Linked DNA regions of Homo sapiens: all the other regions are linked to region 2. Evidence: promoter capture Hi-C in 16 types of primary human blood cells and fetal thymus (Javierre and others, 2016). All regions are on one chromosome and are shown on one strand. The core of a region is centred on a gene start or on the middle of the fragment in contact, and the rest is flanking DNA. Distances in the headings are between cores, read along the strand shown. Region 1 overlaps SLC35D2 (solute carrier family 35 member D2). Region 2 holds the start of CDC14B (cell division cycle 14B). Region 3 overlaps SLC35D2 (solute carrier family 35 member D2).

Evidence for each region. The method cuts DNA at HindIII sites, captures the fragments that hold promoters and counts their contacts. A CHiCAGO score of 5 or more calls a contact.
Region 1: a fragment that was not itself captured here is called in contact with the fragment with the promoter of CDC14B in region 2 in 9 of 17 cell types (activated CD4 T cells, naive CD4 T cells, total CD8 T cells and 6 more); the score reaches 7.1 in activated CD4 T cells.
Region 3: a contact is called between a fragment that was not itself captured here and the fragment with the promoter of CDC14B in region 2, in 1 of 17 cell types (naive CD8 T cells). The highest score is 6.9, in naive CD8 T cells.

Annotation. Positions count from the first base shown.
Region 1 is chr9:96,326,415-96,329,114 of GRCh38, forward strand. All of the region lies in intron 9 of SLC35D2 (solute carrier family 35 member D2), which reads right to left. All of the region lies in intron 9 of SLC35D2-HSD17B3 (SLC35D2-HSD17B3 readthrough), which reads right to left. Among named protein-coding and RNA genes, the nearest start is that of HSD17B3, 26 kb to the left of the region's middle. The HindIII fragment of the contact is 3,533 bases long and covers 1-2,700 here.
Region 2 is chr9:96,618,522-96,621,221 of GRCh38, forward strand. It overlaps CDC14B (cell division cycle 14B), which reads right to left and starts at 1,322. Exons shown (of 14, transcript NM_033331.4): 1 at 698-1,322. The coding sequence starts at 857. RefSeq lists an enhancer at 473-973. The HindIII fragment of the contact is 24,798 bases long and covers 1-2,700 here.
Region 3 is chr9:96,349,870-96,352,646 of GRCh38, forward strand. SLC35D2 (solute carrier family 35 member D2) reads right to left here. Exons shown (of 12, transcript NM_007001.3): 5 at 2,169-2,240; 6 at 1,234-1,302. SLC35D2-HSD17B3 (SLC35D2-HSD17B3 readthrough) reads right to left here. Exons shown (of 26, transcript NR_182427.1): 5 at 2,169-2,240; 6 at 1,234-1,302. Among named protein-coding and RNA genes, the nearest start is that of SLC35D2, 32 kb to the right of the region's middle. The HindIII fragment of the contact is 1,789 bases long and covers 535-2,323 here.

The sequences.
Region 1 (2,700 bases), core at 59-2,558, 290 kb before region 2:
CAAATAATGAAAGTAAATGTTCTTTTATAGAAAAATTGTTAGCCTTCTAAATAAGGCAATAATATTTGTAAGTTGAACTTTAAGGCTTAAGAAAAAATCTAAGTTTCGGCCAGGTGTGGTGGCTCACGCCTGTAATCCCAGCAGTTTGGGAGGCCAAGGCAGGCAGATCACAAGGTCAGGAGATTGAGACCATCCTGGCCAACATGGTGAAACCCTGTCTCTAATAAAAATACAAAAAAAATTAGCCAGGCATGGTGGCATGCGCCTGTAATCCCAGCTACTCGGAGGCGCTGAGGCAGGAGAATTGCTTGAGCCTGAGAGGCGGAGGTTGCAGTGAGCCGGGATCGCACCACTGCACTTTAGCCTGGGCAACAGAGCGAGACTCTGTCTCAAAAAAAAAAAAAAAAGAAAATCCAAGTTTCTCAAATTGTTATAATTTTAATAAATCTAACATTAATTTAGATTCCCAGGAGCTATAAATAATCCTATTTATCCATACAATGAAAAAATTAAAAAACTCAAACTGATGCCACTGAGTGCCTGCTCTGCCAGGCCCTGGCTGTCAGAGGGGACCATCCCATCCACAGCACCTGCCCCGGAGCCACTCAGACCCAGATCAGAGGAGAGAGCTGCACAGCAGCGGGAGCACAGCACAGGGCCCAGCCCAACGCAGGGGCAGAGAGGAGCTTCCTGCAGGCCGCCTATGCACCAGCACAGCCTTAAACCAAGGACAGCATGGATGTTCTTTATTTCCACTTTTGCTTTAAAATTCCAACTCCAGGGTTCCAATCATGCAACATTTTCTCCATCCTCCATTTTTCTTTTCTTAAAAAAGGGTTGGGGGGAACCTCATCTCTTGACAAGATCTGGCTATATTACCCAGGCGGGACATGAATGCCTGGGTTCAAGTGATCCTCCCGCCTGTCTTCCAAGTAGCTGGGACTACAGATGTGTGTCGTCACACCCAGCTCCATCTTAGTGAAACCACCTCAGCCTGCATTCAGAATCAGAAGACATCATGGATCTAAGATCCCAGCACCCATCCATCATGAGTGTGGGTGACTAGGACATCACTCACCAGCTGGGCTGAGCCAAGGGAGGAGAATCCCTCCCTAACATTCTGGAGTGAGCCTCAGTGAGCAGCCATCCTCCTTAGCAACAGATGGCGGCTAGATAGAAGGGCTGCACTTCTTTTTTCTTTTTCTTTTTCTTTTTTTTTTTTTTAAAGATGGGGTCTCACTCTTTCGCCCAGGCTGGAGCGCAGTGGTGTGATCATGGTTCACTGCAGCCTCCACCTCCCAGGCTCAAGCAATCCTCCCACCTCAGCCTCTCAAGAAGCTGGGACTACAGGTACACATCACTAAACTTGGCTAATTTTTAAATTTTTTCTAGATACAGAGTCTTGCTATCTTGCCCAGGCTGATCTGGAACTCTGGGGCTCAAGCAATCCTCCCTCTCTGGCCTCCCAAAGTGCTGGGACTATAGGAATTAGTCACCACTCCCAGCTTGCACTTCTTAATATACCCACTAGATGTCCCCAGAGAGGGCAAATATAGAACCACCAGGCTCAAAGTAGCAGTATATTACATTTTTTAAAAGAATCTATTTCTATATGCAAAAAAAACTTGCATAGTTCTTTGGCCAAAACCAAGACTTTGAACTAAAAGAACCTTCGTTAACTCAGTACTCAGTGCAAGGGAAACCTCACCACTTTTATTACTGAAAATATCAACCTCCACATGACTAGCTTTGATTTTACTATCTGTAGATTAATAAAATACAAAGATATTTAAAAGTATTGCTGAATTCTTAGTAACCTTTTTTACCATTCTATATTTTTTAGATAGGGTCTCACTCTGTTGCTCAGGCTGGAGTACAGTGGCACAATCACAACTCACTGGGCTCACATGAGCCCAGCCTCCATCTTCTGGGCTCAGGTGGTCTTCCCACCTCAGCCTCCCAAAGTGCTGGGATTACAGGTGTGAGCCACCACGCCCAGCGTGCTCTGTATTTTGAAGTCATGATATTATCTGTGTACATTTGAAATATAACAGCACATACATCTGATGCACATTTATTCAGACAACAGAGGCCAGCTGAGTGTTCTGCTTCTAGGGCCCCCAGGGTGGAGGTGCCCAAGTAGAAACTCCTGGACCAGAGCCTCTGCTCAAAGCCTTCTTCTTCCTGTTCTAAAAACAGCACAAAAAGTAACTGCCTTACCCAACATTGTGGCAGTCACAAACAGAACTCAAATGACCTAGTTTATACCTTGTCACTGATTACCGTTCCCTGCCCCAACAAATATAGAAACTCAACAAACGTTCAAATATTCACAGGCCACTTTTGCATTCTTTCCACCATCCACAATGGTACCCAAGCACATCATTCTCTTATAATTCCAGATTTCAAAGAATTCCAAGGAACCCCATCCTCACCATCTCTAGGAAGAACTCACTCCTAAGAACTCACAGAGTGCCAGCCTGGACAACATGGTGAAACCCCGTCTCTACTAAAAATACAACAATTAGCTGGGCTTGGTGGCTGGAACCTATAATCTCAGCTACTCAGGAGGCTGAGGCAGGAGAATCGCTTGAACCCAGGAGGCGGAGGTTGCAGTGAGATGAAATCGCGTCACTGCATTCTAGCCTGGGCAAACAGAGTGAGACTCCATCTCAAAAAAAAAAAAAAAAGACATTATTT
Region 2 (2,700 bases), core at 72-2,571:
AAGTGACAACCCGGACATTCGTCTTGCCGGCTGGCTCGAATGCCACCAACGTGACACCTTCCTTCTCGAGGCCCCGGCGGGGAGCGGACCCCGGGAGGCGGAGGCGTTCGGGGGGCGCGCTAGGGGGCAGGGCGCGGGAGGCCCAGGAGAGGGGCTCGGGCTTACGCGCCGGACGGGCAACGCGGCGCCCAGGGTCCCAAGGCTACGGAGCAGCGGGGGTTTGGCCAACGCCAAAAAGGGGCAGCTCCCGTGCCAGGCGCGTTCAGCGCGCTCGGGGAATCCTCAGGGGCTGATTCAGAGGTTGTGACTCGCGCGAGGGCCAACCGGGCTCGCAATCCCTGAAGGCGGAATCCACAGGAACTCAGAAGCAGCCCGCGGGGAGGAGCTGCAGGTTCGAGGCGCCGGGCTGACGCCCGCAACTTAGAAAGGTGACCCTCGGTCCATCTTGCTGGTGGAGGAGGGTGCACAAGCTAAAGTTAAAGCTCGCAGCCCACGCAGCTAGAAACTCGGGGCGGGGGGCGCTCCTCAGGAGCCAGGCTCCTAAAGGGGGTGTGGCGGCCGGGGCGTTTAAGGGGGTGGGGGCGAAGGCATTTCGGCCCGGCCCCGGAGGCCCCGGGCAGCCCGGTGGGAGGTGGGCCAGGGCCCCGCGCCGGGTGCGGCCGTCCGGGGCCCTCCGCGCGCCCACTGGCCGGCTCACCGGTGATGTCCAGGTACACGTCGTCCTGGGGGTCCCGGCGGCGCGGGTCTTGCTGCGTGGAGCTGCGGATCTTCTTCACACCCGGCGAGGTCGACGAGCAGCGCCGCGAGCAGGGGGGCGCGGCGGCCCAGCTCGACCGCCGCTCGCTTTTCCGCTTCATGGAGGCGGCCGCGGCCCGTCAGGGGGCCACGACCATGGCCCCGCGCGCCCGCGCGCCCGCCGAGGCTCCCGCCAGCCCCGCGCGGGCGCTCGGGGCGGCGGGCGCAGAGCGGCGCTGCGGGGACGGCGGGCGCCGGCAGAGCCCGGCGGGAGGCGGTCGCGCAGGAGCCGGAGGAGGAGCCCGGCCCACAGCGCCTGCCCCGCTGCCTCCCGCGGCCGCCGCAGGACCGGCGCCGCAGCCCTCGCTACAGCGCCTCCTGCCGCGGCCGGCGCCCCCAGCCCGCCCCCAGGTGCCCGCAGCCGGCTGGCGCGGCCGAGGCGACGGGGCTGCAGCTGGCGGCCGGAGCTGCCCGGGGTAACCGTGCGTGCCCACCGCGGCCGCGGCCGCTGCTGCGTAGGCGCCGGGGCACAGCAGGACGCGGCTCGTGGGGACCCCAGGAGGGCTGTTCCGTGGCGCTTCATTCACAAAAAAGGGCCCACAACCCTCCTCGGGGCCCGCAGACTGAGGCCTTTCATTGGCCAATGCGGCGTGACGTCACGGAGACGGGGCCTTTCTACAGGCAGGTACTCGGTGACGCCATAAAGAAAACTCTGAGGGCTTCCGCCAATCAGAGATAAAGTGTGCTAGCGACCTTCGCCAGCCCCCCAACTTTTGTTTCTTCTGTGTCCTCCAGGTGCCAGCACCCCAGATCCCAACTTTCTTTAGTGAGTCACCAAACATTTACACAGCCCCACCCTAGTAACTTAACTCCAGGTCTTTGGCATATATATATCTTAAAGTATTTCTTGAATTTCCTTGTAATTCGCGCCAAGAGAAAGGGACTTTTGCCATGGCTGCCAGCTTGGAAGAGGATGGCCTGATTACATTACCTGCAGCTATATAGATTTAAAGTAGAGTTGATTTCAGAACTTAAGTAAAACTATTTAAACAACTACGCTCTATTTATCGACCTATGCCCAGCATTCAAACAGGCCAAGCAAGGGCTTCTTAAGGACCCGATGAAACTTCCGTGGAACCACAATATACCGTGGTTGTTTGCACCTCAGAGTTTCTCATCTCGGAATCCAGCGCCCACATTAATTCAGTAAGTTTATACACTCATTGCTGTGTATACTGAGGTGTCGACAGGTCCGATTATATCATGAAGTATTGAAGCAAGGGGCAAGTTTTGTCCTTAAACTTCTTTATCTGGCACACTGTAGGGTCATATCCTCTTCTTTTTCTACTGGATTAAAATAATGCCCTATCTTCCTGGAACTTAACCAAAAACTGTCATTTTGGAGGGCCTTTAAACAAACGTCCATGGTAGCATCTAAAAGGGTGAGAAGATTGGAGGGCAGTGTTAAGATTTCACGGCCCCAAATTTTACAACATCTGCAAGCTGTCCCTATTTTTCACCAGCACTTGAACGTTTTATCCTGCAGTTCCGCAGTTAACTGCCAGCCTGGGGAAAAGAAAGATGAATTTGAGTCAGTCCCCTTGGAAGCCTCTCAGAAATGCAAATTTTCATAGAGCACCTCAGGAAGGGGCTCTTTGACTTCTATTGTTGTGGGCTTTTACCTTAAGCACGGCTAAATAAGGAAGTAGGGGGGCTGTGTCTGAAGCTAGAGATCAGCAACTCTGTAAGCACTTTTTCTTAAGGTTGGTTCTCCTGTTCACTCTTCCTCTGTTTCCCCTAAGGAAATCAGTGAAGGCCTTAAATTTAAAATGATCTACATGTCTGTCTGTAGGGGCAGCAAAGAAGCTAGAGACGTGGGAGGCTGTGCGGCGCTGCGCAAGTAAGTTTTAGAGAGCAGAAACGGTAGGGTCACAGTCCTTTGTTTTGACCTGGAGGAGGAGGAGG
Region 3 (2,777 bases), core at 179-2,678, 270 kb before region 2:
CTGTCTCCCTTAGCCCCTGGAGCATCCTCCACAGAACTCCTCCCTCTTTAAACTACTTTACTTATAAAATTTCATTCCAAAAAAAGCCTGTCATGACTAGATGAGGCTCTGAGAACTGCTGTCTAATGGGTGCTGGCCCTATACCTGCGGTGTGAATTGGAGCACTGAGACCCCAGAGCCAGCTTTCAAGCAGTAAAACTCAGCCCCTGGCTAGGACTAGGGGAGAGAAAGGTACAGATGACACGTAAGTAATAAACCTTAGTCTACACAATGGACTAAATACATTTATAATGACAGTAAGCATGATTTGTTTTTCTTAGAGACAGGATCTTACTCTTTTGCTCAGGCTAGAATGCAGTGGTGCAATCATTGCTCACTGCAACCTCAAACTCCTGGGCCCAAGAGATCCTCTTTCCCCAGCCTCCTGAGTAGCTGAGACTCCAGGCACACACCACGACGCCAGGCTAATTTTCTTTCCTTTTTTTTTTTTTTTTTTTTTTTTTTTGTAGAAATAGGTTCTCACAATGTTTCCCAAGCTTATCTCAAACTCATGGGCTCAGGTGATATTCCCACCTAGGCTTCCTACAGTGCTGGGATTATAGGGGTGAGCCACCACACCCAGCCTGGAGCTAAGTTTTGAACCCAGGGATGTAACTATTCACATGCACTATCCACCATGCTATAGCAGAAATCTGAGCACCTGCCTGCCCACGAAGACTTGGAGTCCTCGTTATTCCTTTTGCAAAATAATTATTAAAGTAGTAGTCATGCACCAGTGTTGGCTCATATCCCAAACGTACAAATATATTTAGCATTCTACCATCGGAAACAGCAACTGCTAAGGTATCATGGAATAATAAAATAAATCAGCAGACAAAGGCTTTGTAAGTCTGTTATTATTAATCAAATGCCTAAGAACTTCTCAAGTAAAGTTGTTATAATGAAGACAAACATTCAGTAAGAAATGTAAACAGTTCACTGCTTTTTGTGAAGAAAAGCTATATTAATATCTTGCAATGCTCTCTTCATATATTCTCAGAAATTTTCTGGCCAATGTGGGACCCACTTTGACTTTCATAGGAACACATGGGGATTCCACTAACTTCAACAGATTTGTCTCTTGCCTGCTCAATTCAACAGCAGCCAGATGGAAAATGAAAAACTGAGGATGGGGCTGGGCCTATTGTCAAAGACACAAAGAAGTTATTGAGCAGAAACAGTCCAAAGTCTTACCCAGCTGCTATGAAAGCCCCGAGAATAATGGCAAAGACACTGAGGATGATGTTGAGTGAATACTGCTTCCTGTAATAAATACACAAATAAGAAAGGAAAGGGAGCAGAGAGGAAAACATTGAAATATGATTATATTTTTTAAACAAATTGAAAATAGACATCAGCATTTTTATAGCTAAAATCCAGCAGACAATGCTTGATGCAGAGAAAGCACTAAAAGTGTTTCTAAGTCAGACTAAATTTACATTATTTCTTAAGCAGTTTTCTTAATCTAATTACAAACTGATTTCTCTGTTCTCACTAGAGAGATACTGGGACAAAATACAGAAGCGCTCCTGCTGGTGGATCTAGTTTGCATGGACTGATAGTGAGTATTCAAAGATTATGATAAAATTCAATACAAGGGCTTAAAACACTGAACCACCAACCAAAATTCATTTCTAAATAATCCTCCCAGCAAAATCAAGAATCAACTTTTTGGATATCAGACTAAATATCCTTATGAAAAATTTTATACCAACAATATAAAAATTAATTTCTTCTGATATTATAATTACTGCGTCAGAATTGATATCCCTCATACCCTGCACAACTATCCTGTATGTATACATGGACAGTTTCCCTTCTGTATTCCAAAATTGGTTTATATTCCATCTGGCTCAGGAAACAGGTTTACATCCTTTTTGGAGTGTTTCTTTTACTTTCTTACGATTTTCTACCACAAACATGCATTATTTGTCTATGGTAAAATTACAACTTTTAAAAAATCCCTCATTAAGTTCTTAGGGAATCACAGAAGCACAAAACTACTTTTAAATGAATAAACCATTTGTCCTTAAATTATTGCAACTAGCAATGGCTACTAGAATTTGCTGGGTAAAAGAAATGCAGTGGGTGGGAGGCACACTGGAAGAATGGAGGAAAAACAAAATCACCCAAGTATGATGGTTTCCAGAAGTAAGGTAAGTGGAATGGTGAATTTCCTGAGCACGGTGAACATCGGTAGGCTGCCAGGAAAAGAGTGAAGCATGTCAGACACCAAGGGTTGGTTGATTGGTTTTATCTTTTACATGTTTTACATTTTTAATTAAGCTTACTAATTTTCCAAATCAATTTTCACATTTACCATTAACAAATCACATTAAATAATAAAAATAAATGGAGATTAAATAATTTCATACCACTTTCACTTAGCAATTTATTTACTTATTTTTTATTTATTTATTTATTTTTTTTGGAGACAGAGTCTCGCTGTGTTGCCCAGGCTGTAGTGCAGTGGTGCAATCTCGGCTCACTGTAACCTCTGCCTCCCGGGTTCAAGCGATTCTCCTGCCTCAGCCTCCCAAGTAGCTGAGATTACAGGCATGCGCCACAACACCCGGCTAATTTTTGTATTTTCAGAAGAGACAGAGTTTTGCCATGTTGGCCAGGCTGGTCTCAAACACCTGACCTAAGGTAATCTGCCCGCCACAGCCTCCCAAAGTGCTGGGATTACAGGCGTGAGCCACCGCACCTGGGCTTCACTTGGCAATTTAAGACACCGT